Linked DNA regions of Homo sapiens: all the other regions are linked to region 1. The links are contacts of gene promoters, found by promoter capture Hi-C in blood cells and fetal thymus (Javierre and others, 2016). All regions are on one chromosome and are shown on one strand. The core of a region is centred on a gene start or on the middle of the fragment in contact, and the rest is flanking DNA. Distances in the headings are between cores, read along the strand shown.

Region 1 (2,700 bases), core at 185-2,684:
CTAATTTTAGAACTCCATATATTAATGGTTTATAGCCTCTCCTTTCTCAGTGGCAGGACTGAGAAATAGGAGCTTGCGGTATGAAATCAGAATACCTGAATTTCAGTCTCACCTCCATCACATATTAGCCATGTGACCTTGGGCGAGTTGTTTAACCTCTCTTTGCCTCAGTTTCATCACTGGCAAAATGTCGAAACTAACAGTAGACTCCCTCAAAGGGATGGTGTGAAAATTAATGACAACATATTTAAACCATTTAGAATAGTACCTGGCACTTCGTGTTTTAAAGTGATAGAAATATACCATACTTGCCTTATATCCTCTATTGGTAAATTCCATGTTAAGGGCAAAATTTCTTTTTTATATCGCACCAGGGTACCTAGCACAGTATGTAACAAATACTAGACGCTCAAAAAAATGACATGCATTATATTTGAGGTAAATAAATTGAATGCACAAGAAAATAAAGGTATTTTAAAAATGTAAGTGCAATTAATATAAATTAAAGGGCTCTCGACATATCATTTGCATATCTTCAATTTTTCCTTATAATTAGTTGCTGGCTATCTTACGATTTTATCTTTTTCTTGCCCTCTTCAAAGCATGTAGTTTGGTGTAATGCACATTATAGCCCTCAGAATTGCTGGCCTTCTGACAAGCTAGCTGTTTGGATATTGTGAGGGATGAGGTTGCTGCAGCAAAAAGTGGGTTACACGACAGCACAGCCTCGCTGCTGGAGATGAAAAACCAATAATCCCAGAAAACAGCGCATAGGGTAGGCTGGGCCAGCCGAGGATTATGTGAAGGTTCGTTGGGACCCTCCGGAGGCCAGTGGGGTACTGCAAAGGTGAGTGCCCCAGTGCCAGGGGTCGTGAGCCCGGAGCCCTGCGGGGGACGGCTGGTAGGCCCTGCTGGATGAGTCATTCTCCCCACCCCGGGCACGTGCTGGTGGCGGCATCCACCCGGACCCCGCCTTCCCCCCACCCAACCCCCGGCGCGGAACGCGAGCGGTGAGCGGCCCCAGCGCCCCCAAGGCGCCCCCTCCGGGCCGCCTCCTCCGGGCGGGCACTGTCCTTGCCGCAGTCGGCCGCTGGCGCAGTCCCCGCGCCGCAGTGCCGGGCGCTCGTGGGGGGCGCCCACGGGCACCTGGGCCGTCTGCTCATCGGAGCCGTCCGCCGTCCTCCCGCATTCCCACGGCGCCCCACGCCCGCGCGCCCGTCGCCGGTCACCCGCCGCCCGCGGAGCCGCGAGGGCGTCTCCTGGAGGCGCAAGAGGACTGGGCGGGGCGGGGCGCGCCCACCGGCCGGCCCAGGGCACCTCGCGCGGGTGCACACGCCGCAGCCCCCCGGGGCGGGTGGGTGTGCTCCGGCCGCGCGCGCCGCCGCCGCCGCCGCCGCCGCCGCCGCCTCCTCAGCCTGCCGCTCCGCCCGCGCCGCCTGCTGCCGGCGCTCGGCCCAGCACGCCGGCTCTCGGGCTGCCGTGGGCTGCGCGGGGCCCGCGGTGTGTAGAGTCCGCCGCCCCGGAGCCGCGTCCCGCACCCGGACGGTCCCGGTAAGCGGGGGCGGGGGCGGCGGGGACCGGGCCGTCACCTGAGGGGCGGGTCTGCGGCCGCGGACAGTCCTCCGGGACTCTGAGGTGCTTGTGTGGGAGCCGCCTCCAAGGTGGCCCCCCTGTGTCATTGGATGAACCCCAAGTAGCTGCTGCCTCTACGCCTTGGGGGAGTCCCTGAGGTGCTGTGGGGAGCCGCCCCCATAAAGACCCCCTGTGGGAATGGACTCCCGCGGCGCTGTCTGCATTTGCTGCCATAGGGAGCCCCAGCGTGGAGGGGACTGGCCCCAGAGAGCCCTTCTGTGTCACTGTGGGAGCAGGCACAAGGGTGGTCTCTGGAGCTGGCTCAATGGAAGACCACCTGGGAACATAGGGGAGCCGCAGGAACCTCGAGGTGGTGGAGCCCCCAGAGGGCTCCCTAGAAAAGGAGGACCTGAGACTGTGCCCTAGAACTGTGGGAAGCAACCTCTGACTGGGGAGGGGGATCCTCCCATGGGATCCATGAGTGACTTCCCACGGCTCCAAGGACTTTGGCCTCCACCGGGATCCCTGTAGGGTTCCATGTGCCCTTACTTGTATCCCCACACCGTGGCCCAGAGGTGGGGGCCTTCTAGGGCTGCAGCCTCTTTCCATTCCTCCTCTTTCCCCATTCGGATTTTTCTTCTCCATGGTAGCCCAGTTGCTCCACGCTGCATTTTAGTGGAGACAGAAACTGCTGCGAGAGCACAGGGCCCTAAGCCGAGGATGAGGACCAGTGAGGCCTCTAAAGCAAAGATAGGAGATTTGAGCCCCTAGGTTTGACCGTGCGGAAGGAAGCAGTAAGATCAGGTGGAATAACTGACTTTGGCAGGTCCTGGAGGGAAAGGCCTTTGAAGGAAGGAATAAAGGATGTATGGGATTGTTGAGCACCAGTACGCTAGGCAGTATACTAGGTATGTTTAAACATCTCATATAACTCTTACAACAGCTTTGTGAAATTATCCCCTTTTAAACATTGAGACTCAGAGAGGTTTAGCAATTTGCCCAAGGTCACAAAGCTGATGAAAAACATAATCATAAAATGTTTTTCAAATTTTATTTGGGAAAAAGTACTAAGGAGCAGCAGAAGAAAGAATAGATATTTGTTAATAAGTTGCATTAAGGTGCCTGCCG
Region 2 (2,761 bases), core at 173-2,672, 210 kb before region 1:
ACCATGGGTGGTGGTCAGTGGGGAACAAAGCTCAATTGGATATCATCAGTGGCTTCACTGGAGAATAAATAGGCTTGGAATTTTGAAGAACCAATAAACTGCTTATATGTAAGAGTGAGAAAGATGTAATGCACAAAAATCATAGAGCTGTAAGTTCAAATTTGGGGTAAAAACTATAACAAAATTGGCTTGCTTATGGCCAACTACAAAGTAGGTTGCAACCTGGCTCAGTGCTGCATACTCAGAAGGTTCCTAGTAATTGCTTTCTGATGAGGAGGTGAATCACCACAGAACAGTGGTTTTCAACCTTGTTCATTTGTCACTAAATATTGTGCCAAAATATTTTAATGTTTTACATGATGAAAGAATAAAGGCAACTTAAATTTATCTCTATAATATGCTACTTTTACTTTCATTCTGCAATGCTTTGCTGAGGGAGAGAAAGGGGTAGAGTTACAGCACATATGCTGGAAATTGTGCACTGGGTAACACTGGGCACTTGAATATCATTTCCCAAATGTGTCAGGGTGTAAAAAAGGTTGGGAGCTGCTGCTCTAAAGAATAGGTCTTGCCAAAATCAGGTAATCTTTAATACGGAAACATTCCAAGTGGATGGAGGTGGAGATATCACCTGTCATGACTTGGCAAGATTAAAAAAAAAAATCCAGGTCCATGACATACTCATTAATCATCTGCTCCACCAGCCAGACAGGTGTTGAACAGGAAGCCAGGGGTTAGTTACAGCTTGACAGGAATATTTTAGCACAGAATCAGAAGAGACAATATCATTTCCTAACTAGAAGGCTTGGGCGGAAGCTGCTATCCTTGCTGGGATGGATGCTAAAGGAGTGCAGGGGTGTACTGAGTACACAGGAGCAGAGGAGGGATTAGAGCAAGGAGCAGCCAGCTGGCAGACTATCCTCCATGACTCAGAGCAGAGAGGTCAGGAAGGAGCTGAAGTAGGCTGACTACTAAGTCCCCACAGCTGGAGTGTTGTTAATTCTGATCAGCCTCCTGATTCTTGCTGCTCCATACTGGCTTCTTGGATCCACAGCTATACTGGCCAAGCTTGGTGAGCCATGGTCAAGAGGACCAACAGAGTGGGCTACTCAATTTTCCATCCATCAATCAGCTTCATTTTATAGGCTAGCTGCTTCACTGGAGTGTGAGAAGTAGCTGTAGGTACTCTCGTAGGAGAATGAAAAAAGCGGTGGGGAAAGAATTTACTAGCTTTTCAAGAAGAAATGATATTTACAATAAGAGGTAGGTAGGTAAAATACTGACGGGAATGATGTTAAAGGAAAAAAACCAGCATGTGAAATTATTTGAGCACTAAGAGTATATAACCATGGAAAAATGTGTCCATGAGAAAAAAGACCAGAAATACCCCATACTGATAGCATTATTTATTATGGGGGGTAAAGTTGTGGGTATATTTTTCCATTTCCCATTCAGAATTCTGAAAATGGAAAAATATACCCACAACTTTACCCCCCTAACAAATAATGAAGATGCATTGTACTTCTATAGTTTAAAAAAACATTTCAAAAGTAAACAATTAGGGCACTTTCAATCCAATGATAGATTAAGTTGATTCAGACCATTTCTCCTGCCAAGAACAACTAGAAAATAGTGACAAAATATTTTTAAATAATGTTGAAAGGCATTGTAAAACCTCAACAAAAGTTTGATAAAACTATCAAAAATTACTTTAAAAACTTTGGTAAAACTACCAAAGCACTGAGGAATTATGGGGTCAAGATTCAAGTGAGAGGGAAAGCTTACTGAAGTGAGCCTGACATTTGGGGCTGTTCTTCCTCTTAAGGTCAATGACAAGGGCTAACAGGCCGAAAAACTGAGCAGAAAATTTGAAAGATTTATAGGTTAAAGGGAACAAAACTTGGAATTTGCTTGATAAGAAGGAGGGGTTCTGGTAAAAACCACAGGCTTTTGGTCAATCCTGAAGAGCTGTACCATAGCAGTAAGTATGAACTGGAAATAGATAAGCTGTCACAGGAATTGAATCTACTTTGAATCCTCTCAGTCTCTGATTGAACTATGGTGATCTGGAATTGCCAGTGCCTCTAGCTTAGCTACCAGCCATGAGATACCAAAGCCTGACAACTATAGTAAGAGAAAAGAAAAGTACAAGCTAGTTTCATTTATGAACATAGATATTAGCAACCTAAACAAAAGATTACCAAACTAAATCCACATATAAAATCAGCAATACACTATGAGTGAATTGGGTTTATTTCAGGAGTACAAAGCAAGTGCAAGATTGAAAGAGCAATCACTGCAATTCACATTAAGAGAATTAGGAATAAAAATTGTATGATAATATTGATGTAGAAAAATATTTTGATAATATTAAACATTCATTCATTAGGAAAACTTTTCTCAAACAAGGAATGGATGAAATCTGATAAAGAATACTAAGCAAACATTAAAAACTGTGAGTCAGTCTCCTTTCCTTGCTCAATAAAGCCAAAATTTTGGCAGCTTGGGAGGCATGCCCTGCTCCCAGAGACCTCAATTATGTAAATAATAAACCTTTTTATACCCTCTTATTGTGTGTGGCATCATCAGTCTTGATATTCAAATCAGATTTTGGGTGTGGGCCCATCCTGTTGCTTTAGGGTGGTCAAACAAATCATAAAGCTTCTAGAATATAACATAGAAGACTATCTTCATTACCTTGAGGTTAGGAAAAATTTCTTAAAAAGGACACAAAAAGCACTAATCATAAAGAAAGATTGAC
Region 3 (2,880 bases), core at 207-2,706, 230 kb before region 1:
TGGAGAGCAGCTTCTGTGGCTTCTCAGCTTCTTCCCGGGAACGTCTCCTAGCTGAGGAACGGGGAGACAGTGTTATATGGCATGGGATAATTTCATAGGCATCCTATAGGAAGCTGAATAGTAAGGCCTTTGACTCTCATCAAGAAAAGACTACAATCCTGAAAAGTCCGTACTCTAAGGCATGTCTGAGTACAGCATCGCTGTAACACAATGTCCCATATCTAATTTCATTTGATTTTTACAACCACAATGTGATTGAGGCAGGATTGTCAGTGTTTTGCTCATTTTGTGGATAAGAATGAGAGATGAAATGACTTCCACAGGGTCATAAAACTAGTAAGTTATACAATTAAGAACATCTGCTCTACTTTCTTAATTCTTCATTTCCAGGGCATTGAGGTACAGGATTTTGGAACATTCTCAAGTTATGATTTCCCACCCATGGAAATTTCAGTCTGGGGAACTGGAGTCTTCAGTGGCAGAGCACCTGGCTCTTGGCTCCAGAGGTCACAGAGGGACAGGATTCATGGGAAACACCCACAGTGGAAGGGAGTCAGAGGAGAGATTGGGACTTTACCTGTTGATGCTGCATCTCTAGCTCTTTGCCTGACTTTTTGGTGACACTTAGAAGACAAAAACATTAGAATGTGAAGCTGGGACACCATTTTCTTTCTCATGTCCAAAATGAGACAAAACTTACATACATTTTTCACTCGCTTTGTATATATCTATCTGTATTTTATACACTCTCCTGGACTTCCTTTGCCTATTCCACCTTTTTACCCCATTTTCCTTCTCTGCTTATTTTGGATTCACTTGGAGGCTTTTCCAAATTCTATACCTCCCATCTGATTCACAGAGAAGTCCTGCTGGATGCTGAGGATGACACAGGAGGAAAAGCAGAACAGACAAAAGGGTAAATGGTTCTAACAACCAAAGGACTTCTGCTTACAAAGCCCACCAACCGGAAAAATCCCCCATATTCAGAGAGCTTCCGAGATCCAGCAAGATAGACTTCATATTATCTAGTTCTCAATCCAAACCAAATAGAGAGGTTCTTGGCTTTTCAATCAGACTATGTTGCGGGAAGGGCCTGGTAAGGAATTATAGTCTCTGAGAAGAAAAGTATTACACAAAGGTAACTGAAAGTATGCTATAAAAATTCTGGGGTGGGGATTATAAGGGAGCACGGTAAGAACTTATAGGCTTCTTATCTGAGGCTTAATTAGTTCAGTTGGGATCACAGCCCTACCCGGCAGCAGCTCCTTTTAGGTTCTGAACTCAATTCATGGTGGCTCCTTTTCACTTGCCAGATAATTACAATAACGATGAAGATGGAGCCATAGATGTATAAGGGATATCCAACTTCCCACAGAACAAAAGTAGGGCTCAACATGGTCTAAACTTCATTAGCATGAGATCAACCATCCCTCTATCTCGGAATTCAGGGTTCTGGTGCCTAATGAATCCCAGTGCTAGGCCTTGTCATGTCCACCTCACAGAGGACGGAACTAGGCCACCAGACTGCATCACAAAGCCCTCCTGTTTCATAAGGTACATGTAGTAGGGAAGCTCATGTGGTGATTCAGTCTGTAGATGAGGGTGTTTTGAGCCTGGGACTGAAGGTGCCACAAGCAGTGTCTATTTCCTAGTCTGTCTTCACTTTCCACTCCCTATACCAGCCTGATGCCTCGGCTCTCTCCTTCACAACTGTATGGTCACCTGTCCTCAGAAAACTGAGTGCTTTGGCACAGGGGTCACCTCATAAGAAGGGGTAGATAGGCCGGAGGAACCTCCACTAACTCTCCCACTAGTTTTGGTAATATACCTGAGAAACACACATGAATTTAGGGAGGGCGGAGTCTGGTTATGGCTTGGAAATGGAGATCTTTGATGTTTTAGGCAATGGGTGATTGGTAACAGAGGTGCAGGAAGGGGACCATGGCTGATGTGGTAGGGTGGTAGGGAGAGGCCAAGGTGGTTGTACGTATCTGGTCTGTGTGGCCTCAAGCTTGCAGATGGGTTGGGACTGTAAATGCTACCTTCCATGGAGGCACATTCATGCTCAGGGAGATGAATGCCTGCAGAGATGGGTTAGTGGCCGCTTCTGACTGTGGGTCACAAGTGACTAGTTGCTGTTCATGGTTGGATGTATGCTGTTTGCCTGAGGATGTTTTTTTTGTTTGTTTGTTTATTTTTCTCAAATCTGTATTTTGTAAATTTTTAGGCAGGGCATGTGTTTTCCAATTCAGCTTCAGGACCCATTACTTCCATAGCCAGACTATTGATTTACCTGCCTAGCTTTTGTAGATATTGTGATATGCCACCAACACCTCAGTATTCCTGAATTTCCTTGAGAGAGTTCTGCTCTGGTAATGGTGGTCTCAGGCCAAGAAACCTTTGGGCTGAAAATCTCTGAAGAGGCTTTGGTCCTTCCTCAGTATCCAGCCCACCCAGCAGATGTGGTAAGCACCCAATATGTGCTCAGCCCTAAGCTGGGGAGTGTTGAGGATACAAAGACATTTGAGCCGCATTGGCTTTCTGCTTTCAAGATACTTAAAAATGTAGTTTCAAAGACAAGACTAATTCATACAAAGCAAGAGCCAACAATCACTACAAATAGACTTATATACTCATTCGTAAGGCTCTGGCCACAAACATTCCATTTCAGAGAAGAGAAATCATAGTGAGGATCATGGTCATCAGAGAGGGCTCCTGGGTAGTCGAAGTTAAGTTTAACAGTGCAGGTTGTGGGTAAAAGGACTCTTCCTGGTGGGAGAAAAACTTACCAGCTCATGCTGAATCTAGGGAATGGGCCATGGAGTTCATTTGGCAATAACAAATGCAGTGTATCTCTAGCAGAATATAGAAGGGTGGACT

The links. The method cuts DNA at HindIII sites, captures the fragments that hold promoters and counts their contacts. A CHiCAGO score of 5 or more calls a contact.
Region 2: a fragment that was not itself captured here is called in contact with the fragment with the promoter of PHF24 in region 1 in 1 of 17 cell types (endothelial precursors); the score reaches 5.6 in endothelial precursors.
Region 3: the fragment with the promoter of SPATA31F1 here is called in contact with the fragment with the promoter of PHF24 in region 1 in 4 of 17 cell types (erythroblasts, endothelial precursors, M2 macrophages and 1 more); the score reaches 6.6 in erythroblasts.

What each region holds. Positions count from the first base shown.
Region 1 is chr9:34,956,851-34,959,550 of GRCh38, forward strand. PHF24 (PHD finger protein 24) reads left to right here and starts at 1,435. Exons shown (of 8, transcript NM_015297.3): 1 at 1,435-1,551. RefSeq lists an enhancer at 1-133 and a silencer at 1,483-1,562. The HindIII fragment of the contact is 16,428 bases long and covers 1-2,700 here.
Region 2 is chr9:34,744,223-34,746,983 of GRCh38, forward strand. It overlaps a transcript of PHF24 not described here. Among named protein-coding and RNA genes, the nearest start is that of SPATA31F1, 16 kb to the left of the region's middle. The HindIII fragment of the contact is 712 bases long and covers 1,067-1,778 here.
Region 3 is chr9:34,728,032-34,730,911 of GRCh38, forward strand. It overlaps SPATA31F1 (SPATA31 subfamily F member 1), which reads right to left and starts at 1,457. Exons shown (of 4, transcript NM_001141917.2): 1 at 1,253-1,457; 2 at 578-623; 3 at 1-51. The coding sequence starts at 1,396. It also overlaps a transcript of PHF24 not described here. The HindIII fragment of the contact is 7,130 bases long and covers 1-2,009 here.